Regions from separate parts of the Homo sapiens genome. Here regions 2, 3, 4, 5, 6 and 7 are each linked to region 1. Evidence: promoter capture Hi-C in 16 types of primary human blood cells and fetal thymus (Javierre and others, 2016). All regions are on one chromosome and are shown on one strand. Each heading gives the region's core, a stretch centred on a gene start or on the middle of the fragment in contact. The rest is flanking DNA. Distances are from core to core; before and after follow the strand shown. Region 1 holds the start of THAP5 (THAP domain containing 5). Region 2 overlaps DOCK4 (dedicator of cytokinesis 4). Region 3 overlaps DOCK4 (dedicator of cytokinesis 4). Region 4 overlaps DOCK4 (dedicator of cytokinesis 4). Region 5 has its middle 99 kb from the start of DOCK4-AS1. Region 6 holds the start of RINT1 (RAD50 interactor 1). Region 7 has its middle 30 kb from the start of IMMP2L.

What was found. The method cuts DNA at HindIII sites, captures the fragments that hold promoters and counts their contacts. A CHiCAGO score of 5 or more calls a contact.
Region 2: a contact is called between a fragment that was not itself captured here and the fragment with the promoter of THAP5 in region 1, in 3 of 17 cell types (M2 macrophages, M0 macrophages and activated CD4 T cells). The highest score is 11.4, in M2 macrophages.
Region 3: a contact is called between a fragment that was not itself captured here and the fragment with the promoter of THAP5 in region 1, in 11 of 17 cell types (M2 macrophages, fetal thymus, M0 macrophages and 8 more). The highest score is 24.7, in M2 macrophages.
Region 4: a contact is called between a fragment that was not itself captured here and the fragment with the promoter of THAP5 in region 1, in 13 of 17 cell types (M2 macrophages, total CD4 T cells, fetal thymus and 10 more). The highest score is 27.9, in M2 macrophages.
Region 5: a fragment that was not itself captured here is called in contact with the fragment with the promoter of THAP5 in region 1 in 1 of 17 cell types (M2 macrophages); the score reaches 7.7 in M2 macrophages.
Region 6: a contact is called between the fragment with the promoter of RINT1 here and the fragment with the promoter of THAP5 in region 1, in 1 of 17 cell types (non-activated CD4 T cells). The highest score is 6.3, in non-activated CD4 T cells.
Region 7: a contact is called between a fragment that was not itself captured here and the fragment with the promoter of THAP5 in region 1, in 1 of 17 cell types (M2 macrophages). The highest score is 5.8, in M2 macrophages.

Annotation. Positions count from the first base shown.
Region 1 is chr7:108,567,978-108,572,239 of GRCh38, forward strand. THAP5 (THAP domain containing 5) reads right to left here and starts at 1,729. Exons shown (of 3, transcript NM_001130475.3): 1 at 1,513-1,729. The coding sequence starts at 1,592. DNAJB9 (DnaJ heat shock protein family (Hsp40) member B9) reads left to right here and starts at 1,897. Exons shown (of 3, transcript NM_012328.3): 1 at 1,897-2,126; 2 at 3,740-3,966. The coding sequence starts at 3,750. RefSeq lists enhancers at 1,312-1,791, 1,325-2,052. The HindIII fragment of the contact is 6,219 bases long and covers 786-4,262 here.
Region 2 is chr7:111,766,025-111,770,286 of GRCh38, forward strand. DOCK4 (dedicator of cytokinesis 4) reads right to left here. Exons shown (of 53, transcript NM_001363540.2): 37 at 3,505-3,653; 38 at 1,008-1,094. It overlaps LOC124901726 (a long non-coding RNA gene), which reads left to right. Exons shown (of 2, transcript XR_007060478.1): 2 at 31-850. Among named protein-coding and RNA genes, the nearest start is that of DOCK4-AS1, 40 kb to the right of the region's middle. The HindIII fragment of the contact is 1,827 bases long and covers 1,536-3,362 here.
Region 3 is chr7:111,748,171-111,752,432 of GRCh38, forward strand. The region is part of intron 42 of DOCK4 (dedicator of cytokinesis 4); the gene reads right to left. Among named protein-coding and RNA genes, the nearest start is that of DOCK4-AS1, 58 kb to the right of the region's middle. The HindIII fragment of the contact is 225 bases long and covers 2,275-2,499 here.
Region 4 is chr7:111,728,466-111,732,727 of GRCh38, forward strand. DOCK4 (dedicator of cytokinesis 4) reads right to left here. Exons shown (of 53, transcript NM_001363540.2): 52 at 3,761-3,822; 53 at 1-255. Among named protein-coding and RNA genes, the nearest start is that of DOCK4-AS1, 78 kb to the right of the region's middle. The HindIII fragment of the contact is 5,943 bases long and covers 1-4,262 here.
Region 5 is chr7:111,707,822-111,712,083 of GRCh38, forward strand. No RefSeq gene overlaps it. Among named protein-coding and RNA genes, the nearest start is that of DOCK4-AS1, 99 kb to the right of the region's middle. The HindIII fragment of the contact is 2,299 bases long and covers 805-3,103 here.
Region 6 is chr7:105,529,724-105,533,985 of GRCh38, forward strand. It overlaps RINT1 (RAD50 interactor 1), which reads left to right and starts at 2,478. Exons shown (of 15, transcript NM_021930.6): 1 at 2,478-2,634; 2 at 3,101-3,146. The coding sequence starts at 2,593. It also overlaps the pseudogene LOC100131785. RefSeq lists enhancers at 1,759-1,808, 2,096-2,673, 2,259-2,558, 2,649-2,828, 2,674-3,250. The HindIII fragment of the contact is 4,822 bases long and covers 1-2,731 here.
Region 7 is chr7:111,590,359-111,594,620 of GRCh38, forward strand. No RefSeq gene overlaps it. Among named protein-coding and RNA genes, the nearest start is that of IMMP2L, 30 kb to the left of the region's middle. The HindIII fragment of the contact is 7,955 bases long and covers 1-4,262 here.

The sequences.
Region 1 (4,262 bases), core at 479-2,978:
TCAAAGGCCAAATAAATCTGGGAAATACGGGGTTAAATCAAGTTCAACATGATCTTTTGCTACAAACATTCTCAGAGATAGAGCCATTAGTACAGTAGTATTTCCCTATAAACTGAAAGTGGATTAGATTGTTTTCCTCCCCCAAACATCTCTTTGCATCTTGAGGCTGGGCTTCAAGGGAGACAATCCTGGAAATATTGCCATGGATTGTGAATTACTTGGGGTTATCAGTTTTTTTTTCTTTTGAGACGGAGTTTCGCTCTTGTTGCTCAGGCTGTGGTGCAATGGTGTGATCTCGGCTCACCTCAACCTCCACCTCCCAGGTTCAAGCGATTCACCTGCCTCAGCCTCCCGAGCAGCTGAGATCACAGGCATGCGCCGCCACGCGCAGCTAATTTTGTATTTTTAGTACAGACGGGGTTTCTCCATGTTGGTCAGGCTGGTCTCAGACTGCCGACCTCAGGTGATCTGCCCGCCTCAGCCTCCCAAAGTGCTGGGATTACAGGCGTGAGCCACCGCGCCTGGTGGGGTTATCAATTTTTTTTCCATTAATTAAAATACTGGAAAGCAGCCGAATCATTAATGAATAAGTCCTTCAGGTCTAAAGTAAAATGAGCACAAAACAACTGCTGAAAATCTGAACCAGGTTAGATCTAAATGAATTGTTTTTAAATACAAGAAAAAATGGAAATGCAGTATTTTAAATATGTTGCTTTTCATGTGTTATTAATCATGTGAGTACTATTAACATCTCCATGTTACAGATGAGATATGTGAGACACCAAAGCTTAAATACTTTCCAAGAGGTCATTAAGCTACAGAATAGTGGAACCAGGATCTAGCATTGAAGCCTGGACCCCTAATTATTATACGACACTGCTTGTCTGTACTTCTGAATAAAAATCAGTGCTTCAGTAGTTTGATGGAAATATATCGTGGCTCTAGTAATTCAGAGTAACAGAATAAAACCTTGTTCTCCGCAGAGTATCTACAGCCCTAAGCAGAAGACTAGTTTATAATTCTGGCTCTGACACTAAACTTTCAAGGTCGGTTACCTAATCATTCCGGGCCTCAGTTTCCTCAGGAGAAAAGTGGGATGAAATTATACCTATGCGACCTACCTCGCGGGGGGTGTAAATTAACTTTGCGTGCACCTTTCCACTTCGCAGGTTTCACGTATCTTAAATGGTGGTTAATGTTGTTCAATGAAATGAGATCACGTGAAGTGGGGAAAAGACTGAAAACCACAGAAGCCCGCGCAAACTTTACTGTTTTAACTGTTAACACCCAAACAGGCTCCTGGGCCTCGCCACCAGCCAGCAGTCCTCGCGCAAGAAGGGCATTGCTAGCTAAACTGAACTAGCGCCTTCCCTCCGTCTTGCCGCGGGCGACGGGCCACGTACGGAGAGCTGAGGACTCACTGGCAGAGCGGACAGGAGACACCCAAGCCCAAAGGCCACAGGTCCAAGGCCTCACGGCGAGGCTGACGCTTCTGCTCCAGAAACAACTTACGGATAAAAACTCAGCTTCCGGTCTTTATTGTTTCGTCCCCGGCGGTTCTTACAACAAATCGCTGCGCAATAGCGGGGCATGACTCGGGTGAGGCCCCTGGAGACCGGGGCCGGCGACGGATGCAGGGCGGCCCTCCTCACTGAGGATGCGCCACAGGTCCAGGCCTCTCGAGCCCCTGCGCCTGCGCTAGCATTCTGCCGGGAAAGCCGCCTCGTCTGTCGACTCACTTCCGCCTCCTCCGGTTTAAGCACCGCCTTTTCGGGGGTTGAAGCCGGAAGTGGCGCACAGCCCTAGCAGCAACAACAGTTTTCCACGTGCGCGTAGGGCGCCGGGATCACGTGGGGAGGCAGAAGCCAATGGGGAAGCGTTTCGTGTAGGTCTTCTGAGGTGGTGGCGCCAGCGGCTACCTCCTGCCTGTGAGGAGCTGGCTGAGAGGGGACTGGGCGCCGGCGGGGAAGGAGGAGCGCTAGGTCGGTGTACGACCGAGATTAGGGTGCGTGCCAGCTCCGGGAGGCCGCGGTGAGGGGCCGGGCCCAAGCTGCCGACCCGAGCCGATCGTCAGGGTCGCCAGCGCCTCAGCTCTGTGGAGGAGCAGCAGTAGTCGGAGGGTGCAGGTGAGGGACGAGGCCGGGGTCGTGGGGAGGGGAGTTCGGAGGGTCCCCGTAGCCCAGGCCTGTCTTTGTGAGCTGACTTGGCCTCGGTGTCCGCCACGGTCGCCGCAGGGACAATGGGCTGCATGTTTTTGGCCGAGAGAATGGAAGAACGGAGACAGCCGCATCACAGAATCGTGTTTTGGGTTGTGGCGCCGGCTTTCACGGGCGCCGGATTAGAGCCCGGGTCTCGGGCAGCTTCTGCGGCGGGGCCTGGGCGGGCAGGGAAAGTGCCAGTCGCCTTTAGGTGAAGGTTGGAGGGTCTAGCCCAGCCGCCCACCGAGGCTGGGGAATAAGGCACGGGCTGCTGGCTGGCGGGGCCGTCTTGGGGATGAGAAGTCTGTACAATACAAAACTAGTCTGCTAAAAAAAAATCATTAGATGTCCACCTTGAGACCGTGGAATAACGTCTGCTGAACCAGTGAGGCGCCTCCCTGTCAGTTTTAGATCCGCCCTTTGACTAGGGAGCAACCTGCAGTTGACGCAGCGTCCATGGGACACACTGTTGTGTTCCTTAAACCGAGAAGTGGTTCTTGATTCTTGGTACCCGTGACTACGAGTAACTCTCTGGAAATAAGTAATCTACCTGCCTGCTAATTACTCTCAGGAAAGGCCGCTGGAGAGGAAGCCAGGCAATTTCCACAAACCGTAGTGTTTTTCGTCAGCCTTATTATGGCATTATAGGTTACTAAGGACTCTGGTGGTCCCGTATTCAAAAAACAGGATCCATCCCTTCGTTTTGAATCTCAAGTCATTGAATACATATTGTCAAGAATTCTAAGTTAACATTTCTTTAATGGTTTAAAGGTAAAAGAAATATTTTAACTACTGAGTTTGTGAAAGTAAGAATCTGCCTTAACCACAGTACAAACTATCAAAGTTCATTTTTCTGGCAGCTTTAGCAGAAATCTTAAATTCTGTTCATCATGAGTTTTAAACAATATTTAGCCATGCTTCCTGGTTAAACATTTGGGATCTTACATTTGGGAAAAAGACAACATTCTATTGTATTGTCAGTATTAGTATTGTGATATTAAGATTCTCTATTTGCAGTCCTTGGCTCACCTGCTGAAATGAAAGCTGAATTTTTGGAGCGAGATTAATAATACTAATTTAGATATACTGGGCTATTTACCTTGGTGCGCCACCTTTTTTTTTTAATGTTTTTTTTTTCTGTGAAGTTAAATACATTATTACTTTCAGGATATGAAGTCTTGAAAGGAAAGTTGGGATCTTATATTATTTGGTTTTCTTTTTTTTTCTTACAATGCTTGCATATGATGAATCTTCAATATAAACTGGTTAAAAGTCAGTTATTGATAATTTTCTATCTCCTCTGTGTATGGCCAGAGTATTAGTAGACAGACAAAGCCAAGAATTATTTTTGTTCTCAATAAGGTTAAGCCAGTTTGAGAGTTATAAAACTAAAAGTGAAATTACATGTGGACAGGTAATAGATACTGTATGCTTACTATTTTGATACTGCATTAGGTTTACCTTGTGTTGGATTTCTTTTAAAAGAAAAACGTTTTAAGATTAGCTCCATCCATAACATTTTTTTTTCTTTTCTGTTTTAGGATATTAGAAATGGCTACTCCCCAGTCAATTTTCATCTTTGCAATCTGCATTTTAATGATAACAGAATTAATTCTGGCCTCAAAAAGCTACTATGATATCTTAGGTGTGCCAAAATCGGCATCAGAGCGCCAAATCAAGAAGGCCTTTCACAAGTTGGCCATGAAGTACCACCCTGACAAAAATAAGAGCCCGGATGCTGAAGCAAAATTCAGAGAGATTGCAGAAGGTAAATAAATGACAATCTCTGAAGTGTCATGGGTATTAACTAGTAAGGAGAATGATAGCTAAGAAGTGTTTGTATTTGAAGGTTTTGTGGAGATGGGAGGTGGAGTGGGATTTATGTATAAATATTGGGTGATTCTCTGAGATTATTTTCTTATCACAGATGCTTTGATTCCTGAATAAATATATGAAAGAATAATAGATAATTTTATTGGTATACGTATCTAAAAATATTGAAAATCTATTCTATATTATTTATAAGATCACTGTTGCTTCTATGACAAAAAAGAATTTTAGGTA
Region 2 (4,262 bases), core at 1,199-3,698, 3.2 Mb after region 1:
GTAAACATCATCACCTCGCTTCTGTTACAGGGACAGGATGCCAAGAGATGAACAGCAATGTTTTCATATAAAACTGCAGTGCCTGCCAGAGTCAACATGATGGACTGAAGTTAAAACAAGCTTTTTCTCTTTCGTTTTCATGTTAGGAGAAGTATCGATGAACTGCTGACATGAAATACTGTGCCAAAAGGACAGAGTCAGTTCCTGCCAGTTGAATAAATTCCTTGTTGGGATATAAGGGATTTTATGAGCTGTTACAGGTTTATGGTATTATCTCTTAAATGGCTACCTCAAAATTAAAAGGCAATATTGTACTCTTTTTTTTAATGTATAAAAACTGATGATCCTATTTTAGAAACCCTGAAGAACTGAAGCACTCAGCAGGATCTTGTGTATTACAAGATGACACAAACGTTCATGTTGCTCAAGAGTAAGGACTTGGAGGGCAAGGAGGACTTGTTTGAACCTAAGAGCAAAGCAGATATAAAACATTTGGTTCAGAGAAACAGAATACTCAACTCCTTGAGCTCTTAGGTACTGAAACGTTGATCTAAGTCCAGCAAATAAAAACACATTGCTGAAGCTAAAGAGAGGTGACACCTACAGAATTTGGCCCTAAATTATTTAGAAATAGGTCAGCCATTCCTACAGATTTGCAGATTATGGGACTAAGAATGGTATATTGTTACAGAAACTTATGTGTAAGTGGAAACTCTTCAAACAGGGTGGAGATTTTCCACAATAAACTAAAAGTGTTAATCCTGGATTAGATTGTATATTTCATATGTGGTATTTAAAACAGATCAAGTGCTCACTTTTTTATATTAAATAAAAGCATTACACAAATCAATTTGCTATTTCTCTATATAAATAGCTAAGTATGCTTCAGAGGATTTATCTTAAAAAGGGTTTCTGCAAGACCACAAAGTTAATTTCATAGAACCACACTGGAAAGCTAATCACAAAGGGAGGCTATGGCCTGATCAGGATGCATCCAGGCACCTTACCCGCATCTTGCTCAGGTTTCTGTAGTCATAATAACTCTCATACTGCTCTGCAATCTTCCGGCACAAGATAATGCCATTCTCCCAACACTGTGGACAAATGAATGAGATCAATGGAACCATCTGACAATATCCACTTACTTCTACCCAAAAGTCAGAACATGAGTGCTTTCAGAGCACCAAGCCTTACTCCTTAATCTTTTTTTTTTTTTTTTTTGAGATGGAGTCTCACTCTGTCACCAGGCTGGAGCGCAGTGGCCTCATCTTGGCTCACTGCAACCTCCGCCTCCCTAGTTCAAGCGATTCTCCTGCTTCAGCCTCCTGAGTAGCTGGGATTACAGGCACGCACCACCACACCCAGCTAATTCTTGTATTTTTAGTAGAGATGGGGTTTCACCATGTTGGCCAGAATGGTCTTGATCTCCTGACCCCATGATCCACCCGCCTCGGCCTCCCAAAGTGCTGGGGTTACAGGCATGAGCCACCGCGCCCGTCCACTTCTTAATCTTTATAAAACACCTTGAGACTTCAAGCTTGAAAACACCATGTAATTGAAATGTAAATTATTAAAAATCCTTTGAATGCTGGAAACGATAATCTACCACAACAGTCATTAATATATTGTACATGAACTATATTTTCTGGTGTCATTCCAGAATCATCTTGAAATGACTACAGTTCCACAATGGCCGAGTAGATGGATATAAACAGGCCCTCAGTGCAGAGGAGAGAATTACCACTGACCCCTAAGGCCCAATTATCTGTGACTGGTACCCTGGATTCCTTGCTTGGCTTAGTTGTGCTTGCAAATTGTGAGAGGTCTAACCAAGTTGGTTACTCTCAGCAGAAATGTAAAAATTCTTTAATCTAGTATAGGTGTCAGCAAACATTTTCTGCAAAGGGCCAGAAAGTCAAAACTTTAGTCTTTGAGGACCATTTAGTTTTTGTCACAACTCTGCTGTACTCAATTCTGCTGTTATAGCACCAAAGCAGCCATAGACACAATTAAGCATGGCTGTGTTCCAATAAGAATTTAGGGACACTAAAATGTGCATTTCATATCATTTTCACATGTCCCAAAATGTTATGATTCCTTTGATTTCTTTCAACCATTTAAAAACGTAAAAGAGATTTGTAGCTTTGGGGCTGTACAGAAACAGACAGTGAGCCATTTGACCTGTGGACCATAGTTTGCAACCCCTGATCTAGCACAGACTCCCGGGGATGGACCAATAAATGAATTCAGAGAGTTTGCACCACTTTATCCCACAGGTGGAAACTTTACAGCAGGAGGGCACAAAAACATTTCTTTTGGTATTCATGTAATGATATGTCAGTGTACCTAGATAAATAATAAAGGAAGATGTGGAAGAAGCAACTTCCTTGCATCAAATTTTTACGTGTACCCAATTATATTTTGTAAAAGAATTACAGCCATTGGTTGTATTTTAATTTTCTGTTTAACCTTTGCAATCTGGAAGATAAATTTGAGTCTAAGACATGTACCACCAAAGCATCCAAGTGTTCAAATCCAATAAACAATGGCGGTCAGATTCATGAATTTTTTAAAAGAGTACTACAAGCCCTTGAAGAGGGGTAGGAAGTGGAGGGAGGTGATGTACTGAATTGCTTTATGAAGTCAGTGAGGTTTTTTCAACACCTCAAGGCATCTCTTAAGTATATGATGGGATGCCACAAAATTCTTTAAACAAATTAAGTTTCATATATTTTACCTTAAAGTATAATGGAGCAGAATGCATGCCAATTTCGGGAGAGTGTGAAGGATGATAATGGTTTTTCAGAGAATACAATATCTGCGTGCTATGGTCTGCATGTTTGGGTCTCTGACAAATTCATATGTTGAAATCCTAACCCCCAGGGTAATGGTATTAGGAAATGGGGTCTTTGGAAGTGATTAGGTCATGAGGGTAGAGCCCTCACGAATGGCATTAGTGCCCTTATAAAAGAGGCCCCAGAGAGTTAGCCAGCCCCTTTCACCATGTGAAGATACAGCAAGATGGCCCTCACCAGACACTGTATCTGCCAGGGCCTTGATCTTGAACTTCTCAGCCTTCAGAAATGTGAAAAATAAATTTCTGTTGTTTATAAGCTACCCAGTCTAGGGTATTTTGCTAAAGCCGCCACGAATGGACTATGTTACTGGGGATCAAAATCTCTAAATCGGTGTTTATCAAAGTGTAATGAAAAGGTCATGCACATTGGACTCTCCTAGGGTCCTTGTTAAAATCACAGATTCCCCAGCCTCATGCCAGACAAGGCACGAATCAGAATGGCTCATTCAGAATCAAAATGAATCAGAATGGCTAGGAGTGGCACCTAGGAATCTGCATTTTAACAAGCTTTTGGGTGTTTCTAATATACATTAAGATGTGAGGATCCCTGCTTAAGGAGGTGGGCATTCATAAACTAGAAATGAAAGGGAAAGGGACATCAACACCATCACCCCAGGAGGGACCCCGGGCGGGGCAGGGCCACTTACTTTGCCTCTGTCAAAGTTCTGGATGATGGTGAGGTGCAGGTGCTCTTTGCGCTGCCATTCTGTTTGCATGGGGTAGGTCAGGAACTCCCTGAGGGGCCGATCAGACCATTCCAGTAGCTCGTCATATAAGAGGAGGGTATATGCAGCTTCTGCAAGTCACGTGAGAAGACAATGATTGAGACAGGACCCCAAGCCACATTCCCTCAAATGTGGCCAGTTTCCGACAAACTGGGGAAAAAAAATACTATTTTCTAAATTTCGTGATATAGCAGAAAAATATCCAGAATATATGCAGCAGTAGGGTAATGAACGAGGACTTCCCCTGGATGATGGACTTGGACTAATCAGATCTGTATTTCATCTTTTGTTTCCTGTATTTTCGTTTCTGTTTTTGTCTTTTGTTTTTGTCTTCCCTAAAATGTCTGTATGCTACAGTATAATCAAAATGTGTAAGGATATCATGCTGTTGCTGGTTCAAAGATGTGGGGAGACAGGCCTTTGTTTGCTGAGAGAGTTCACTAGTAAGTTCCTTGGGGACTATGAGCATCCCCCAAAGGGCAGGCTTAGGAAATAAAAAATGGCAAATTCTTTGGGATAATAAAGGGCTGAAAAATCGAAACTGGTGAGGAGGGGGTTCAGAGTGGAGGCAGAATTTACAAGGGGCAAAGAAGCCAGAGAGGAGCTGAGTGAAGACCAAAAAAAAAAAAAAAAAGAAAAAGAAAAAATCTAATAACAGGGTAGGGATTGGAGAGGGTGGA
Region 3 (4,262 bases), core at 1,137-3,636, 3.2 Mb after region 1:
CAAGTAATTCAGGACTACAATTAGCATATTTAAATATTGGTTCATTCAGGCAAGGAAACAAATTAGAGTTTTTAAAGGTCACTTGGATCATCTTAAACCAACACTGAAAAATCCTAGAATATGAAGACTGAACATTCATCAAAGACAAAGAGAAGGGAAGATAAGCAAGAACATAGAAGATTTTGTAACATGTGTAACCATCAAAAAGCACGTGTTCAGGGTATATAAGGATTCTTAAAAACCAGGAAGAAAAAGGCAAACGACCCAATAAAAAATGAGCAAATGAATTAAACAACCACTTACAAAGGAATACATTCAAATGGCCAGTAAACAAATAATGAAAAGGTGTTGGGCCTCATTTGTGATCAAAGATGTGAAAAATACTGCTACAATAACATACTACTAAACACCCACTGAAATGGTAAAAATGACAACAGCAGATGAGAGTGAGACTGTGAGCAACGGACTCTCAATTACTGCTACTGGAAGTTCAAGTTGGTTCATTCACTTTGGAAAAACAGTTGAAGATATATATACATGTGTGTGTGTGTGTATATCGATTCAGAAATTCTAGGCATATAAGGAAAAGTGGGGTAGGAGGTTTGTGCACGTGTACCAGGAAACATGTACAAAAATGTTCATAATCTCCAAAATCCGTATGTCCATTGACAAGAGAATAAACATATTGTGATATGTTCATGGAATGGAATAGTATACAGCAATGAAACAAACTTCAATCACATGCAATAACATGGAAAAATATTACACACAACACTGAGTCAAATATGTCTCAATAGAACACAAGTAGTATGTTATATAACGTTCAAAACCAGGTAAAACCAAATCGACTTGTTTAGAGAGGCAAATAGGTGATACACTAAGCAAGGGAATGGATACCATAGAAGTCAGGATAGTGACTACTTTTATGGTGAAGATGGAGCTATAATTGAGAAGAGGTGCACAGGAGGCCTGCAGGATACTGCTGGCAATGTTCTGTTTCTTTACCTGAATGGTGGAAAACGGGTATTTACTTTCAGATTATTTGTAACACTAAACCTTTGTTTTATGTACACAAAACCTAAACCATAAAGGAAAAGTCTGAGAGCTCTGAGTAACTGAAAGTTAAAAAGTAAGCAAAACATCTTAGAACATAGAATGGTGGTTCCCAGGGTCTAGGGGAAAGGGGAGAGGAGAACTTCTGTTCAGTGAATATCGAGTTTGAGTTTTCCAAGATGAAAAACTTCTAGACATCTGTTGCACAACAATGTATATATAGTTAACACTACCATACTGCACACATAAAAATGGTTACAATAGTAGGTTTTATGTGCTTTTGGCTATAAGAAAAAAGCAATCTTCATCTTTATAAATTCAAATGCTATTAAAAATCAAATTTTCTAAAAGTAAATAAAACAAGACATAATAAACACAGGCAAAATACAAACGACTTGGAAAATATTTCCAACATGAAGGATAGATAAAATGTTAATATTTGCCAAATACTGAAGAAAAGGGGCAAAGGATATGATTGGTATAGAGTTCATCAATATATGAAAACATATCTTCACTTAGCATTCAAAAAATGCTGAAACAAAACATCCAACCCCAGTATAATTTTGGTCTATTATTTGGAAAGATTAAAATATACAACACTTAGTGTTGGAGAAGATGCTGGGGAAATAAGTATTCCTAAGACTAGTTATCCCCTCTAGACAGGGTGTAAACGATATATCCCATTGCTGAGCCATGAATCAGTGGTTACAGTGGGGATACTTTTGATTAATTCACTTCTAGGGAAATATAAGGGGACGGTCAAAGAAGTGTGCAAAGATATGTGATAGAGTGTTCACCAAGAATTACTTTCCTCTATCCTTCAGATTACAATCTCTAAATATTGTTCACCACTAAAATGAATAAGGAGTCATTGGAGAAATAGCTGCTTTCAGGTCTGGGGCAGGAGATGTTCAAGTGATCCTAGACCACCTCGTCTTACCAGGAAGGATGGTAAAGGTAAGGATGGGAGGAAAACATGAAAGTATCTGGCCTGTGATCCATTCATTTTCTTTACTGGGGAATGTCCTTAAGGGACAGAAAAGACAGGTGACTATGTCTTATCTCTTTGTCAATTGAACCTTCAAGTAAACAGACTAAAAGTAATTGCTAGGAGGAAGAGATGTTATCTACAGAATGCCCTAAAGTCCCCAGTCAAAGGATTTCTTTAAGTAAATAAATAAACCAGAATCCATGAGGCATGATTACAGAATGTCCCTGAGAAGCTTTACAACTAACTCTCTGGAGTAGAAAATGGAATGTTTCATAATCGACACTTCATAATTTAAACGTGCTTCTGAATGAGGAACCCTGTGAACCTCAGGGACTCCACCTATAATTCTGAATTATTACTGATGTGGGGAAGAAGGACCTAGCAGACGATGTGTAATGTCTCAGAAATCTCGCTGCTTTATCTGAGCATCCTGCCTGCCTTGAAATTACTAGTAAAGCTTGATGCTGGGAGGGGTCGCTGAGTCCTGCATCGAACTTGACAATCAGATCCTGTGTGTTAGCTCAGTAACAAACACTACTTGGATACTGTGAAAACAGACTCAGGAGCCATTTTGAAGATGCTCCCAACAGGCAAAGATGGAACATTTTTAAATTTAATAACTGCCATGGATTAAAACAAAACAAATATACTTATATCCATGAGTTACTAATGATCCAAAAACCAACCAAACAAAAACCCCTCCAGTCGCTTTTGTAGAATACAGCATTATCTTTCCTGTACCTCAGGGTAATCAAATATTTAGTGAGAGGACATTTCTCTTTACAGAGTATTCCAATGAGTAAATAAACATGAAATAAAATATCACCATTTTGCAACCCATAAAAGATTAATGGATCTGGTCAATGATCACCAGTGGCTGCCAACATCACACACACACACGACAACCAGTAGCACATAACACCAAGTATGAAGTAGTCTTGTGAAAATAAAAGCAAACATTTTATCAAGTCTCTAGTTCTAACTACCAATTTACAAGGAATACAGGTGACAGAGAAACATGTTATATGACTTCACTGGGATGCAGTCTGCAGAATCCACACATACGGAAACATTTCAGGATAAACAGTCTTTAGTTTCTTCAATAAAAAAATAAGGAAAGTGATGCAAGGGGAAACTTACAGATTGAAAGAGACTTAGAAGACATTTCAATCAATTGCAATGCATGGCCCTTATTTAAATCTGGATTCGAATAATAGAGTAAAAATATTTTTTTTTTTTCTGTTTTGAGACAGTCTCACTTGTTCTGTTGCCCAGGCTGGAGTGCAGTGGTGCAATCTTGGCTCACTGCAACCTCCACCTTCTGGGTTCAAGCAATTCTCCTGCTTCAGCCTCCTGAGAAGCTGGGATTACAGGCGTGATCCACCATGCCCAGCTACTTTTTGTATTTTTTGTAGCGACAGGGTTTTGCCATATTGGCCAGGCTGGTCTTGAACTCCTGACCTCAAGTGATCTGCCTGCCCTGGCCTCCCAAAGTGTTGGGATTACAGGTATGAGCCGCCATGCCTGGCCTAAAAATATATAATTTTTTTTTTTTAAAAAAGAGGGTTGAGACTGTCACCGAGGCTAGAGTACAGTGGTATGATCATAGTTCACTGTAACCTCAAACTCCTGGGCTCCAGTGATCTTCTGGCCTCAACTTCTGGAGTAGGAGGTTGCTAGGACTGCAGACATATGCCACCATGCTGACTAATTTTTTAAATTTTCTGTTTAGACGGTGTCTTACTACATTGCCCAGGCTGGTCTAAAATGCAGAATAAAAGACTTGGTAAAGTGTGGAATGAACACTGTACATTTTATGATCAAGTAATTATTGTTAATTTTTAATGTGACAATATTTCAGGTTTTTAAAAATAAATATGAATACTAAAATATTTGTAGATGAAGTGATATGACATCTGAGATTTACTTCAAAAATAGTCCAGTTGAGAGGGAGCAGGTAGACATGTAGATGAAACAAAATTGGCTTGATGGCTGTTGAAGCAATGATGGGTAAGTCAGGCTCATTATATCATTATACATTTTCTCTATTTTTGTATGCTATAACTTAAGTTTAAAAAGGTCACTGGCTGCCATGTACAGAGGAGACTACAGGGATAAGGGGGAAAGCAAATCTTTTAGGAGGCTACTGCAGTAATCAGGCACTAGGTGGCGCTATCGGTGGGGGCGCTGAGGAGTGGTTAGATTCTGGGTATACAGT
Region 4 (4,262 bases), core at 1,146-3,645, 3.2 Mb after region 1:
GTACGGGGGCGGAGTCTTGCTCTCCTTGCGCACTGGCTCCTCCCCGCCGTAGCTCGGCACGGGCACCGGCACTGGCACCGGCAGGGGGGCCGACTGTTCATTCACCTGATTTTCAAAGCCTGAGGTTTCCGACGTGCTGCACCGGCTGAGAGAAGAAATCCCACTGCTGTAGCTGCCCGACAAGACAGGGGAGTTGGAGATGAGTCCTGGCGAGTGGTACTCCACTGGAGAGGGGGTGAAAGACTGCACAGAGCCCTGCTCCGGGGAGAAGGAAACGAGAGGGAGACACAGCATTGAGTCGTGAACGCAGATGCGCTGAAATGTACGCCCCGACGCGGAGGCCCCGGCCCCCAGCACCCCCAAAGCCGGCTGCAGCAGGAGATGCAGCCTTTAAGGAGGTGATTAAGGTAAAAGGCCATTATGGTGGATCCTAATCCAAGCTGACTGGTGTCCTTATAAGAGACATTTGGACACACAGGGAGACGTCAGGAATGCGACACACACAGACCTTGCAGGAAGGGCGGTCTGCAAGCCCAGGAGGGAGGCCTCGGGGAAACCAAGGCTGCCACGCATTGATCCTGGACTTCTACCTGCCAGAATTGAGAAAATACATTCCCAGTGTCTAAGCCACCCAGTTTGTGGTATTTTGTGAGGGAAGCCCGAGCAGACGAATACACTCACACTCAAATTTGAGTGTTGTCCTTTGTAGCACTGAAAATGCACACCAGACGTTTATCTGCGAGGGCCACCAGTCCTCGAGTTCAGTTCACCGCCCAGTTTACTCCTTATCATTTTCAGATAGAGGAGAAAGGAGCTGGGCATGGTGGCTCACGCCTGTAATCCCAATACTTTAGAAGGCCGATGCAGGGATCACTTGAGGCCAGGAGCTTGAGACCAGCCTGGGCAACATGGCAAAACCCCATTTCTACTAAAAATCCAAAGGGTTAGCTGGGCGTGGTGGCTCATGCCTGTAATCCCAGTTCCTCTGGGAGGATCACCTGAACCTTGGGAGGTTGAGACTGCAGTGAGCCGTGGAGCCACCAGTGCACTCCAGCCTGGGCAACACAATGAGACCCTGTCTCAAAAAATAAATAAAGGTATCCACCAAGATAATCTGGAGGCACACATTAGTCCTATAGTTTGGAAGAGAGGGAACTGGCCAAAAACCCCAAAAACCTAAAAACGCCATAAAACCTTTGGGGGCGCTATTCACTTTCCCAGCTCAGCAGGGCATGCTGCAGGCCAGGAGCCAGGGCCGCTGAGCACACTCAGCTCAGAAGACCCAGAGAGCTCAGGAGGAGGAGCAGAGGCACCCGAGGTTCTGCACCTGATTTCTCCAGCCATCACTCCAGACTCCAGACTCCTGAGCTGAACTGGCGAACTGGCAGCCCTCGGGGCTGTAGCCTGTGATGTGAGCTGTTTCCTCAGCAGTTTTTTAAAAACCTAATTTAGTTAATTTTTAACATTTCAAATTTCACATGAAACTCCAGAATTCTGGCAGTTCATAAAGAACTAGGAGTTCTGGCCACAATGGCACACATTCTCTTAATAGAGATAATCTTTAAAAGCTGAGAAGGGCTGTCCCTTTTCACTTTGCCAGTCCCCACTATGCCACGTGGGGACTACACCCGGCCTCCTTCATTTGTGTCAGCTGTCTGGCCCCATTTGGCATCTGAGTTTGTTACTTTCCCAACTAGTATCCCAAGGAAAACGAGTCCTAAGATAGATGCTCTGTGAAAAGAGGGTTCCGCTGGGAAATGCTGCACACTGTATACTCCTTGTGTATATTCAAAACATATTCGCATTTTCAAGGCTTAGAATAAAGGAATACAAATAATTTTGTTCAGTCCAGTGTTTTCCAAACTTACTTGACTATAGACCTTTTCTCCCCCGCTTATTACATAATGTCCTGGAAAACTAGTGTTCTATGGTATACACTTTGAGAAATGCTATCTTCTTAAGCTAACTTGACTTTGGTTTCTCTTTGTAAACAAAATAACGCTGGTAGATACACATCCTGTCATTTAGTAGGAGCCTAACATTAAGGCCAATTAAGAGTTCCCAATTCACTGCTACCTCTGTCAAAAGTTAGACCTGAAATTCAAAATATGGCAGGTCAGCTCAGTCTTCGCTGTAGGGTTAGACCCACAGTTTGATGGCTGGCTGGGGTAAAAAAAAAACCCAAAACCCCACTAAACTCTTATCAGTTAAGGCAGCACACTGCAAGGCTAGTAACATGGTAGCAGTGTGCCCCCTAATGTAACCCAGGAGGTATAACACAAATGTTCGATCTATGTTCTCTTCCTTCAAACCCTACATATAAAGACATGGCTTCGAACTGCATATGGCCAGTAAAAATGTACACAGGTCTGCTGAGAGACAGTATATACCAGCTTGCTAAGACTATTTTATAGCTATTCAAACATTTTTAGCTCTTGGGTTCTTTTTAATGTTTAAGAATTAATCTCTTAAGACTTATTTTCTTACTACCCAACAAAATTTAAGTTGAAAAATACAGATGATAATTCCATAGCAACGTGTGGGAGCTCTGTGTGAGTAAGGGCAAATGTAAAAGTGCGGAAAAGCCATGTTGCTTTCCTTTCTATCACATCGAGGTGACAGGCTATGACTTCCAGAGTGAATGCTGTCACAGGTACTTCATAATAACAGCTGCATTACAGAATGAGAACAAAACGAGCAAATCACTTGCACTTACCCGCGAATTTCTACGTCAGAAATTCTGGCAATGCAAGGGAATCACACTTCTTTCAATTTTCTCCATTTTGCGGGGGGAGGCGGGTTGTTTTCCCGTTTCTCAATTTCTATCAGCAACTATCGTTAGCACCACAGATGCACTGGATCGCAACCTGCCCCTATGTGTTTGTAGAGGCTAATTTGTCTTTTGCACATTAGCTAGAACTAGCTCATCACACAAAGGACATGGAGCGTGTAAATCCTAAGTCACTCAGGTACAAAATCATTCTTTCGACACACTTCATATTTGCCTCTGGTGCAGCAGTTCTGAACACCAATCTCTCACGTACTGACAATCCTTGAAGCCGGTCTGATTCAATTTGGATAAGACTAAATATTATTCTTTATCTTCATGAGGGATTTTTTATGTTTAAAGATGTTAAATAGCCCATGTCTACAAACCAATTCGAATGTCTGACCTTTACAGCTTTCCAGTTTGTTCCCTAGAAATCTTTTAAATCCATATTACTGCCTTGTTTTTCATGATCAAGTATGTATTTCTAATGTAAATGAGAAACTTGGTATAAAATATTAACAGAGAATGTTAGGTTTGGCTTTGACAAAATGGGTTTGGCTGACGATAAAGGCAAAAAGACACAGAATATTTAGTAGATCTTGATACTGATGTTTCTCAATCTAAGTGTGTGTGTGTGTGTTTGATGTACCTTAAACTAAAAGGCCAGGCTGAAAGTTTCCTAGGAGGTACATTAGGACCACATTCCTTTCCTAATTCAGTATATGCACTGACTTCAGTCTGCAAGTTCTCACTGCTACCATTTGGAGAATGAGGCTAATAATCGAAAAACAAATGGCTGCGTTTGTGCAGGAGGCACCCAGAAGGGAAAGTCCAGTGTTGTTTTTCTCAACCAGCTTCCCCTATCCCTGATTGATAAGTTCTTTGCCTGGTCCCTGCAAATTAAAGCACCTTTTGATATATCTGGGATGAGTCTTAGAGAAAAAGAAAACTGGGCCAGTCTCTAGCCTCAGTCGAAAGAAGGGCCTTTACCTTCAATGGAGATCGCCCGGCAGGCGAGGGGGATACTGATGTCGTGTGTCTTGCTGGTGAAGCTGTCAATGGGGAGAGAGATAACATTTCAATTAAGAAAAACCAGACGATTGACTATCTGCACATGCCCTCTGTGTTACAAACCCAAACAGATGATCCAGTGCATAAGGACCTTCTAAGCAAAGGGGGTGGTGAGGATGGGGGAGAAGCTAAATGATGCCTGTCTAGAATGGGTTCTCACAAAGGGTGGCACTGCCAAGATATGGGAGCATCAGTGAAAAGTTATCATGGCATATATGATGCTTTGACTATTGACAGGTTCCCAAACTGATCCAATGTCCTTTCCGTTTCCCCAAAGTCCAGGTGCTTCTGCACTGCTTGATCTGTCTCATAAGGTGCTTTTAGGTGTGAGATGCTAGGGAGCAGTTCTTGGGGAACAGCTGTTGACTTTGGCGTGAGCACCAATGGGAACACCATGGCCACCCCAGCAGCCTGGAACAGG
Region 5 (4,262 bases), core at 704-3,203, 3.1 Mb after region 1:
AACACTCACTGAAAATATTCTTTCATATATATGTAAAAATATACCAAGTGTGTTGGTTTATCATTTTCTACGTACAGCTTACTGGCACAAAAGTCCAAAAAGAAGCCCTTGCAAACATGATTTAATTTTATTGACACACCTTGCATCAATTTTCTAATTCAAATTCTACATGCAATGGTTAGGATTCATTCTAAACTGCTTAAGTACTGTAGAATAAATTTGATAGAAGGTCCTTCCCCCTACCACACACACGATAATTTAAAGGTTCTAGGATGGGTAAATGGCTCTGCTACATAACTAGTTATCTCTGCCTTCAATGTGTAACTTCTGTCTCTAGGCCCAAGACCGCAGCTGCAATTCATTTTCAGCTGGCAGTGAGGGGAAAAGGCTTTAGTGCAGGGCAAGCAGCTATGAGTTGTCCCAGAATTTGCATACATCGCTTATGATCACTTGCTATTGGCCTGAATTTAGTCACGTGGCCATTCCCAGTTTAAAGGGAAGCTGAGAAATAGTCTCTGCCATGAGCCCAGCTAAAATACAGGGATTCTAGTACAAAAGGAAGGAGAAAATGGATACTAGGGGGTTAGCAATCTCTACCAAATCAGTGGCATCTGATGTGTGAAAGTTTACTAGTTTTTCCACAGTTAACTCAATCTTTGTTTCAATGAAGTATAAAGAGGAATGTCTTGTTGAACAAGGAACCTCTTCCTGTTCCTTTCAGAGGAGAGAGGCAGTAGGCATTAGATAGAATCAAGAATATGGGGACAAAGAAAGAATATAAGAACTATGTGGGTTTATAATCCAAGCTTTGATATTTACTGGCTCTGTGACTTTGAGTAAACTGCTTTTCGTGTGCTTCAGTTTCCTCATTAGGATGATAGGAAAGAAAGTAGTTGGAATAGGGTTTGGGTTATAGGATTCACTCAGTTAATACTTATTTTATCTACTGAGGGTAATTATTAATAATTCCTTTTAGCTAATATTTTTAATGAAATATTCTGAAACTGTTATTAGTATCGTTCTACTATGAGAAGTACTTTTCAAAGAGCAGTCGTGGCCCTGTTGAGTTGATTTCACCTCTCATCTTCTGAAACTTTTCCAACTTCATTTCTTCTTACTCCTCCCCTGTGATTCTTTTCATTCCCAACACCTAGCTGCTTCCTGCCTTGGCTCATTCTGTTTCTTCCTTTCAATCCCTTCCAGACAGTTCATACTCACAACTTTTTCACACTTTCATCTCAAATTATTCCCCAAGCAACTCTTATCTACTCCCACTGCTGGAGCACCTCAGGCTTCCCTACATTGGAGATGCCCATTTAACCATCCTCTCTTGTACTAGTTTATATGGCATTCTGGTCTCTCTGGCTGACACTGTTACCTGCCTCCCAAATATCCACTGCTCTCTTTTGCTTGCTATTAGAAACCCAATTTTATTCAAGGCAGTGATATGTTCACCAAGTAAAATGTTTACTATCCTAGCCTACCATGCAGCTAGAGATAACTGTGCAACAGTTCTGGCAAATGAGATGTACTGGTGTCTGTTTAGGGATTTGGGATATTTTTACCTATAAAAAAGGGAGACATTGTTAAAAAAATTATCCTGACACTAGTTAAAACAGTAAGACAGGCTTTATTCAGGAGTATTGTAATGGGTGCCAACACAATCACAATAGGGGAGCTTTGTCAAGCTCAACTCTGAATACAGTAAAGACACCTGGGGACTTACAGCCAATGAGAAGGATGAACGGTTATTGGATGGAAAATAAATAACTCAGAGAAGATCTCAAGGGTAGGGGGATTCTTGCTAAACTGACCTGACAGCATTGTTGCTGAAGACAGGCCAGGGTGATCAGATATCAAGGATGGGTGATGAGGACTTTTTGATCAGACTGAGATATCAGGGGACCTAGTTGAAATAAAGCAAGGACCTAGTTGAAAAAAGGGCTCGGAATTCCTACCTAGAGCAATCAGACAAGAGAAATGAATAAAGGGCATCCAAATTGGAAAGAAGTCAAATTATCCTTGTTTACAGATGGTATCTTATATTTGGAAAAAGACTCCACCAAAAAACTATTAGAACTGATAAATTCAGTAAAGTTGCAGGATAAAAAATCAACATGCAAATATCAGTAGCATTTCCATATGCCAACAGGGAACAACCTGAAAAAGAAATCAAGAAATTTATCTCATTTACAATTACTGCAAATAAAATACCCAGTAATTAAAGAAGTGAAAGATCTCTACAATGAAAACTATAAAATATTAGTGAAAGAAACTGAAGAGGACATAAAGAAATGGAAAGATATTCCATGTTCATGAATTGGAAGAATCAAGGTTGTTAAAATGTCCATACTTCCCAAAGCAATCTACAGACTTAATACAATCCCTATCAAAATACCAATGACATTCTACACAGAAAGAGAAAAAGGAATCCTAAAATTTATATGGAGCCACTAAAGACCCAGAATAGCCAAAGCTATCCTAAGCAAAAAGAAGAGGGCTCAGAGAGACTTTGTAAACATAGCTGTTTTGCTCTTCCTTCTACCATTCCCCATTCACCCCCACCTTTCTTATAATCTGGACCTGTGATATCTGAAACTGCAGCAGTAATTTTGTGCCCATGAAGAAATACACAGGAGGAAAAAAGCACCCTCGTTAAGGACGGTGTAATGAAAATAAAGAGCTGGAGTTCCTATTGGCATCATTAGTCAGTAAACAAATGCCAGCAGCCACCTGACTCTTCATTTGTCTTGTCTTTGCATTTCCAGCTGATAAATCTACCATTTCCACATATTTCCTGTGTCCCTCCCACCTCAGGTGAAATTTCTGTCCTATTTGGTTCCAGAGTTAATATTGGAAGCAGAAAATACTTTAAATTTATTCCTGCTTTAGATCCCACCCCTGACTCTAGCATTGACTTACTCTAGCAATTGGCCTGACCTGGCATGGGGTTACCCAGCACTCTACATGAGGCTCCAGAATTGCATCCTCAATGTACCTGCTTCATCTTTCATCTGAGATGTGATATTCTGGGGAGAATTATGGGCTTCTCAGTTGCTCTCTGAAAAGATCACTTCCACCTCTTACCTATTTTATGTGAATAAGCTTCTGAGTCTTTGTTTTAAGCCCAAGTCTTCCATGTGAGTGTCAGTTTATAGAACTGGACTTTTTACGCTCCCCATCCTGACTCCTGCTGGACATTGGCTGTCTCTGACCCTGGTCTAAAGGCTGGCACTCTTTTCCCCTTGAGAATGCCTAAGAGACACCAGTGTTAGCCTTCTGAGCATCCATGCTCTTTGGTTTCCCTGCAGACCTGTGGTGACCCCCTGCTTTCTCATCCTGAACCCAAAGCATGGATAAACCATGCATAAGCCATGACTGGAGATGTCCATAAGATTTGGGCTTTGTGTGTGTGTTTAAAATCTAGACTATGCTCAGCTGTTAGCTCTTACAGCTGCTCAGTTACCCCAGCAGAAGGTCTGACCTGGTAGGTGATTCTAGTGTCATAGCAGTCCCATTGTCTTGTCTCATTACAAGAAAATGGTCACATCTTAGCTATAAATCCTTTGAAACTTTGATAATTCTAGTTACTTGGGATTTGTGGTTTGTCCTTTTAATAATACCATTGAGACTCTGAGGGTTAGTTAATTCTCTTTTTAAATTTTTAAAAAGTGAACTCTGAGAGGGTATTTATGAACATGTAATAGTCTAATAATTGTTGAATGAATGGATAATGAGTCACTAAGTCCAGGGAAACCTATAGGTCAGAATAACAACAGTGCTTTCTTTTCATATTTCTGTCTTCTGAACAGCTTCAGGGAGTGTGGCCTGCTTGTAATTGGTAATGAAAATAGGAGACTTTAATTCCTTCCAGTGCTGTCTTGTTTGATTAGCACCACAATTTGTGTCCAGTAGTTACACGGAAAAAAACAGTTATCTTGGCATTTAAGCTAGTAATTCCAAATGTGACACAAATGACCTGGATACTGCTTGTAGTGGAAAATACGAAAGAGGCTTAATGTAAAATCCAACCTTCGAGGCCTTTTGTGGCCACTTCTGCTACTCAGCATCCACTCATGCCTGACCGGCACCATTCCCTGGTTTTAATCCACCTATCTGGTTCACCAGCTGTTGCTTGGCTCATTACATTTGACAAGGTTCCCAAGATGGTGATACTAGCCTCCCTGGTACTTTTTTTTTTTTTTTAACTAGGGAGAAGAAAGAAATATTTTCATCTTCTCATTGCAGTTTTTAATGAAACG
Region 6 (4,262 bases), core at 1,228-3,727, 3.0 Mb before region 1:
TAGCACTTTGGGAGGTCAAGACAGGAGAATCGCTTGAGCTCAGGAGTAGAGCCCAGCCTGGGCAACATAGCGAGTCACTGTCTCAACAAAAAAAAGTTAGCCAGGAATGGTGGTGCCAGTCTATAGTCCTAGCTACTCAGGAGGCTGAGGTGGGTGGATCCCTTGAGCCCAGGAGTTTGAGGTTACAGTGGGTTATGGCTGCACCACTGCACTCCTGCCTGGGCAACAGAGGGAGAACTTGTCTCAAAAAACAAACAAAAAAACCAAAACCAAAACAAATGACGACAACAACAACAATAAAACAGAGTGACTACAGTTAATAATTTATTGCATATTTTAAAATAACTAAAAGAGTGGAATTGGACTGTTCCTAACACAAAGAAATGATAAATTCTCAAGATGATCAATACCCCAGTTACTCGGATTTGATAGTTACACATTGTATACCTGTATCAAAACATCACATGTCAGACGGCTGGGCAGCCATGGCGTCCTATATCGATGAACACGACTGTGAGCCGTTGGACCCTCAAGCAGGAGACTCGAACCAACATGGTGCTGGAGCTCGTAAGGTCACTTTTGAATAGGATGGACTTTGAAGACTTGGGGTTGGTAGTAGATTGGGACCACCACCTGCCTCCACCGGCTGCCAAGATTGTGGTTGAGAACCTCTCCAGGACAGTCATCAGAGGCTCTCAAGGCTGAGCTCAAGTGCCCCGTGTATCTTTTGGAATCTGAGGAGGAGACTGCCATTGAGATGCTTCCCAACACCTTTTTCATTCCAGTTGCATTCTGCCCTGGCTAAGCAAGACAAATTCCTGTCCCTTGTGCCGCCATGAGCTGCCCACTGATGACTACACTTATGAGGAACACAGACGAGATAAGGCTCGAAAACAGCAGCAGCAGCAGAACCGACTGGAGAACCTCCATGGAGCCATGTACACGTGAGGAGGCTGGGGCTGAGCGCCGGTCCTCTGTGTCTTCCCTACAAACCTTGAATCCTCATTAAAATTTCTTTACCCGTCCCCCGCCCCGCCCCAGAAAAAAAGGCCGGGCGCAGTGGCTCACACCTGTAATCCCAGCACTTTGGTACGCCAAGGCGGGCAGTTCACCCGAGGCCGGGAGTTCGAGACCAGCCTGACTAACATGGAGAAACATCGTCTCTACTAAAAATACAAAATTAGACGGGCGTGGTGGTGCATGCCTGTAATCCCAGCTACTTGGGAGGCTGAGGCAGGCGAATCGCTTGAACCTGGGAGGCGGAGGTTGCTGCGAGCAGAGATAACGCCATTGCACCCCAGCCTGAGCAAAAAAAAAACAAACACACATGTACACTATAAATATATACGATTATGTTCCCATAATAGGTAATTTAAAAAATAGTATCCTTGTTTTTTTTTTTTTTTTTAAATGAGACGGAGTCTTGCTCTGTCGTCCAGGCTAGAGTGCAGTGGTGCGGTCTCTGCTCACTGCACGCTCCACCTCCCGGGTTCACGCCATTCTCCTGCCTCAGCCTCCTGAGTAGCTGGGACTACAGGCGCCCACCACCACGCCTGGCTAATTTTTTGTATTTTTAGTAGAGACGGGGTTTCACCATGTTAGCCAGGATGGTCTCGATCTCCTGACCTCGTAATCTGCCTGCCTCGGCCTCCCAAAGTGCTGGGATTACAGGCGTGAGCCACAGCGCCCAGCCATCCTTGTTTTATGCTTGCAATAGTAATTTGTAGCTCGATTATATATCTCTGTGCACATGTATTTGATTTTTCTTCTCACCGTGTGGTTTCTTTTTCCTCTGAGGGTTGCTTTCCCCCCCCCTTGTTTGTTATGGTCTCTATGGTACTCCTTCCGTGTTAGTTTGTTTAAGAGGCTGTCAAGTCCACAGGTCCTCTACACAACCCTTGCTGCTAGGTAGCTCCCTTTCCTCCTCCCTGGTAAAAGACAGGGTTTTGGGCGAAACACATGTTAGATGCTCTGTTCTCTTCATTCAGCTCCCAGAACGCTTATAACCACCTCTACACCCTCTAGGCAGGAAATCAGAAGCTCATCTCTAGGGACTCTGACCAACGTTAAAAGAAATATCTAAAGATACTGACATTCATTGGAAACCCCCAACTAAATATTCGAACCAAATAACCCTGCACCGAAGCTCCTAGTCAACAAGCCCCCCACACTCTCAGAACATCTGGATATTGCCTAAAATATAAATTTAAATTATTCATATTGAATTTAAGGCGTTGGGAGAGGGATATCTTAAAGTTCCATCATTAAGAGCTTCAATAAAGTGGAGGGGACTTTTACCGCGGTGGAGTGAGCGAATCCCTTCTCTGGAGCTCCATAGGGGAGGGTGCCCGCTTCCTGAGTGGCCGTTCCGACCTCCGGTCAGGAGGGGGAGGAACAGAGCACGGCCGGCGGCTGCACGGGCAGGGCCTCTCTGGGCTGAGAGGAAGAAACCAGTGAGACATCGAGAGGAAGTCGCTGTGGCACTCAGTCCTACGGCCTCCGAGGCTGGGTAGTGAGTGTGTCGCTGGCCTTAGCCAGACTCCACAGGCCACGCTGGCTGCGAATGGAGCCGAGGACTCGCGCGGAGGCGAGATGCTACCAGCCGGCGAGATCGGCGCCTCTCCTGCAGCCCCGGTGAGACGGCCCTGGCGTCCCTGGGAGGGGACATTGGTGGCCCATTGAGGTGGCACAGACCTCCCGGGGGAGATAGTCCCGGTGCGGTGGCCCTGTAAGCTTGTGAAGGTGCTTCCTGCGGCTTAGATTAGAGGCCCTTGTAAGACCTCCTAGAGGAGGCGGTAGTCCCCGTGAAGTGGCTTTGGCGGCCCTGGTGAGATGACAGATTTCTCTAGGGAGGTGGCTCTAGTGAGCAGGCAAGGTAACTCCAGGTCCTGCGGAGGTGACACACACCTCCTGGGAAGGTGGCGGTGGCACCAGGACAGTGGCACTTTGAGGTACCTGATTCGGACGGCCCTGGTCGCTCAGAAAGTGGGAGAGCGTCTGGAACCTCTCTTGCCTCCAGTGGGTGCCCTTTGGGAGCCCCGTATGCTTTCCATCCACGACTTTAATCTTAATGTGCTTGTCACATCTGTTCTTCTTCTAGTGCTGCTCTGAAAGTGGTGACGAAAGGAAGAACCTCGAGGAGAAAAGTAAGCCAGCTCCAAACACCTTAGCTTTTTCTTCCCGCCCAAACTCAGCCTTCCAGGGTCTGCAATATAGAAAGGTTCTTTGCCTATCTTTTAGATGCAGTACCGTTTTCTGCACAATATGCTTATATGGTAATACTGATGACCATGATACACATATTTTTGTCTTTCTAAAATTGTAAAATATGGGATGCTTTGGAGAAGAGCACTTCCCGATCCATACCTAGTACAGGGACTAGAGTGTTTTCGCTGGAAGTCTGCCTATCATACAGTACTCAGAATAATTGGGGCCTGCCTGTCATTTTAATGAAACATCAACTTACTAAGCATCAGGAATTTGGAGGGGCCCATGATCTAGGACAGACGACCACCACCCTAATTGGGTTCAAAGGAGGCAAATGACAGTTGTTTAGTTCACCTTCAGTAAATTGGCAATTTAAAATTGCTCTGGCAAGAGCACAACGGATAACTTGGGTTCTGGATCTTGGACTGGACAGGAAAGGGGGAAAAGGTCAGTACCACCATTTCCTCCCTAGTACGGGAGTATATGTCAGGGTTGTGGACTTTTGCCATTTTACTTTGATGGCAGGTTATTGCAAATCAAGGGCTCTTTAGGGACCTTTGAAGTGACATTTTTTGGGAGAGGAAGGGGAAAAGCATGTGATAGCTCTGCTATTGGGATTTTTGGTTCTTTTGACTGTGGCAAACAGTTGGGAATGTGTAGCAGTAAGAAAAACGGTGCCCACATTAGCACATGGCCCTTAGGAGTAAGATTTGCCCTTAACATTAGCGGCTGATAGAATCTGCCTCAGAAAGAAGGCTCTGAGCAGTCCATAGCACATGACTGTCATAACTGCCACATCTCAGCTCCTTTTTCTTGAAGGATTTCAGAGTGCCTTGTATCTCTCAGTTAAACCCTTCCCTTTCCATTTTCCACCTTTGCCTCATTCAGATGCCTGGAAAGTAGTCTGATGCCTACTGAGCTGTCATTTTAATAAAATAATAGATGTAGACTATCATATCAAGGACTTTGACCTTGTTCCTCTTTCCACAGCTCAAACTGCTTTGCAGTTAGGAGTGCTCTTTACAAAAAATAGAAAAGGAGACACATAAAAACCT
Region 7 (4,262 bases), core at 556-3,055, 3.0 Mb after region 1:
TCCTAAAACAAAGACATGTGACCCAAGTCCCACCAATATGATGTTTTTGCCTGGAACTTTATCAAGTGATACACACAATTTGGAATTTTTCTATGGCTGTGGCACCAATGGCAGTGGCTTCTGGTTCTGGTGGCAGTAGTGGCTTCCAGCATCTGATGATACAGTGGTGACTGCTCGGCAAAGACAGCAGTCATGTCCTAACCAGGTTCTTTCTGCAGCATAATTTTAAATGTCCTGAGTTATGGCCTCCCTTAATTATTGCTCATTTCTTTCCAAGCCCAATCTTCAGTTCTTCTCATTGATTCTGTGAGCGTTCCTAAACTCTTCTAATAATGTTTTTTTTCCTCAAATATACCAGAATGATTTTATGTTGTTTACAACTAAGAACTTGCCTATATTCTAATGAGCTAAACCAGTGGGTAGGGGCCTTGTAGAGCAAACCTGATTGTCAGAGGTCTACCCCTGTGAACAGGAAGAACAGTTCCCAGAGAAGACAGAATCAGTGGACATCCCAATAAGTGTCTTTTTGCATTAATATTGGAAAAGTTGTCCAAGACCATAGAAGAGCTGAATATCAGAACTTTAAGAAGAATCTGCACATCTCACTACTCAATATAGGATTTATTCCTTTGTCCCAAGGATTAATTTTAATTCTTGAATTAATAATGGATGGGGATACCTAAGGTTATTATAGAAAGGCCAACATAAGCCCTTCACAATCTCAATAATTTGCTATTTCACCAAACTGAAAAACCTATTTCAAAAAAGAAAAGGCTGAATTCAATTAAACAACCTGGTTCTTTCAAAATAACTGGTTACCTAATTAAACCTTACTATTGCCTTAAACTTTGTAAACATATCTTAAACACTACTATGCTAAGATGGGGCAGAGGAATGAATTACTGATAAAATTCATAGTTAATTGAAAATGATATCAAAAACATTTTAATACTTTTCACCACATAATAAAATAAAAACTGTGTGATTTGAGTTTTTATCTCCTTTTATGGGCCTGTTTAATTTCTGTAAAGGAGCTTTGAAATTAAGCAAAATAGAAAGGGAAATAGTAATTTGGATAATCAGTCCCAAATAAACAAGAATTGCTAATTGCATTTCTTGTACACAACTAGGAGTAAATTCAAAAACTGAAAGTAAATTGGACATGATGCTCAGAGAGTATCCTTGAGCATGAGTAACTAAAATTAACCAGAATTTTAAATAAACTGGGGACTCCTAGACTTCTGAAGACATGAATGAGGCTATTAGAACTCTCTTTCTCCTACTCATCCATTAGCAATGTCGGGAACAGTTCATAAAAGATTAATGTTTAAATGCTTAAGAATATATATTTGAATACCTTGAAAACACCAAGCAATGCTTTTTAAATTAATTGATAAGTCATTTTATACTTGTGATGTAGACTTAGACTTTTTTGTAGTAACAAGCCAGAAAACATCTATCCTTCTGAGAGATAATATGTGAAAGAATTGTAGAAGAAATGAGAAAGATGATTAGTAATCCTGTATTGCTTCTTGAGACAGCAATTCTCTCGTAAGTGGAAACTTAGGCAAGCATCAGTGATGAGAAATAGATACATTTTACTCTTTACTTCATGGTTGAGAAGTGCCTGTAATTCACCTTTCAAATAAGAGGCAACATGTATAGCATAATCCCACAGTATTATGAAATTTTGGAGGTGAAAGGGACCTTGATGTATCGGTAAGCTATTGCTCTATAACAAGCCATTCCCAAAACTCAGTGGTTTAAAACATTTATTATTGTTCAAGCATCTACAGATTAGCTAAGGGTAGGCTGAGCTCATCTGGGGTGATTCTGCTCCATGTGTTTCTCATTCTCCATAAACCACAAACAAAATAATAATAATAATAATAATAGTATTTTTTTAAGTTCTCACTTGTTGAAGGCTTACTATGTGCTAAAAGCACTTTAAAATGTTATCTCCTTTACTTCTCACAAAAACATTATGAGGTAGGTACTACTAATATCCTAATTTCACAGATGAGGAAACAAAGAAGGAATTTCCCCAAGCTCAAGAAGCTACTGTATGGTGAACCTGGAGCACACAGATGAAGGTCTACCTGACACTAAACTTTATGTTCTTAATCATTCTGTTATATTCTGTTTCATGAAATTTACTATTCCATTTTCAGAGAGTTCTAACCACTAAGAAGTTATTCTTATATTCAGTGAAATGATTTTCTCTATAACTTTTAATCACTGATCTTAATTTGGCCCTTGAGTACATACAGGATAAAGATAATAATCATAAATTAAATGATATAGTAAAAGTGCCTGACAAACAGAATGTGTTCCACAAAAATTAATCTAAGTCAGCCCCACAATAGGCATAACAGTCGTTAATAAAATGTTCAACCGGGCAGGGCCAGAATTATTTGCAGTTTTACCCAGTTGGCACTTATCCTATTATACAGAAAACTATCCAACCTAGGATAAATACAATGTTTAAGTCCAGATATACTGTGTCTATAACATTTCCTTTATCTATCAGCCTAGTAATCTTGTCAAAAAGGAAATGAGCCCTAGATTGAATAAGCAACAGACAATTAGAATTTAGAGGGTAGAGAGGAGGTAAGGGAACATTAAATAATGCTTTTTAAAATTAATCAGCATATATTTTATTAATAAGCAAGCAGGCAAAACCTAGTAAATGTTGACTTTCTTTCTATTTGGAAAAAATTTAATTTGTTCAAAGGTAAACTTTTGTTTATATTATAGGTTTACCTAAGCTGATGAGAGAACTGAGTACATAATACCTATTGAGGATAATAAACTTGTTAAAAGATGATTTTCAAAATGACAAAATACAAATATTAAAAGAGCATATGTGAAAATTTTTATTTAACTCATTAATTAATGAAGGACCCTGTAAGATATTACAAGCTATTCAAAAAAGAATAGAAACAGTCATATGTAGGCAAGCAGGAATGTTGAAGTAAATGTGCTAATATGTGCAAATTAATAGATCCTATAGGTACTAAATTGTAATGTTTGGAATCATCTTTTCTACAGAGAGGAAATCAATTATATCTCTATGATAAAATTCATTAGCATGTCTATGGAAAAGAATAATTTGCATTTTACTGTCAGTCAATTTTTTACAACTTCCTGAGTTGTAAAATAGCTCAGTCAAGGGCAGTCCAAAGCACAGGTTCCAACAGAATCAGATAACCTTACCTTGGAGAGTAAGCCAGACAGTGTCAGACGTTCCAGAACACCCAGAATTGTGCCCATTCAAAATTCTTCACTAGTCTTCCTGACAAAGTTTCTAGAAGAACATCAAGGAGAAAAACTGGGGGAAGTGCTGATTACATGAAAATGTACACTGGTTGAAACGTTTTACAATTTTTTAAAAACATATTATTTGAGACTCTTTGAGAAAAAAGATAATCCCGGAAAATCATGAAATTATTTTTTTTTAATTTTTTTGTCACATCCTTCAAATAAACTGTTAATCATGATATACAAGGTCAGATGGAAATTGAAAAAAGGAAAAATTAACGTTTTTTAATATACCCTCCCATTTGTCTGCCAAAATTGTATTTAAAAGTAGTGTTATATAATTAATGATATTTTATATTTTCAGATGATTGCTAACAAGCCAAAGAAAAAAATTTCCCTGATCGTATTTGGAATTAAAAAAATCATTGATTGAATGAACTAGTAATATTTTATTTAGCATTTCCTTGTATTTAGAGTGGTAAGAATTTCTATGTCAGCTCTGTCCTCTGCATTGACAAATCAGAAGGTCCTGAATCCTCTTTACTCTGTTATGAGATCATAAAAAAGAAATTAAAAGTCAATTGCTCTCCACTGAAAATCCTAGAATTGAGAATCAAGGAATAATCTTCTCTTCCAACCAAAGTCCCTGTGTGACTAAAGATCAGTGTAATTTTAAAATGTGGCAACTTGTATATTAAAATGTCATATAGAATTTTTAAAAATCTTTTATTGAGATTCAAAAATAGACAAAGAAAATATAATAATGGCTAATAAGCACATAGAAAGATGTTCAACATCACTGGTTATTAGGGAAATGCAAATCAAAATCACAATAAGACACTACTTTACATCCATCAAAATGGCTATTGTTTCTTAAAAATTGAACACACTAGGCATTAGTGAGTGTCTTACTTCGTTTTGTGCTGCTGTAATAAAATACCACAGACTGGATAATTTATAAAGAACAGAAATTTATTCTCTCACAGTTCTGGAGGCTGAGC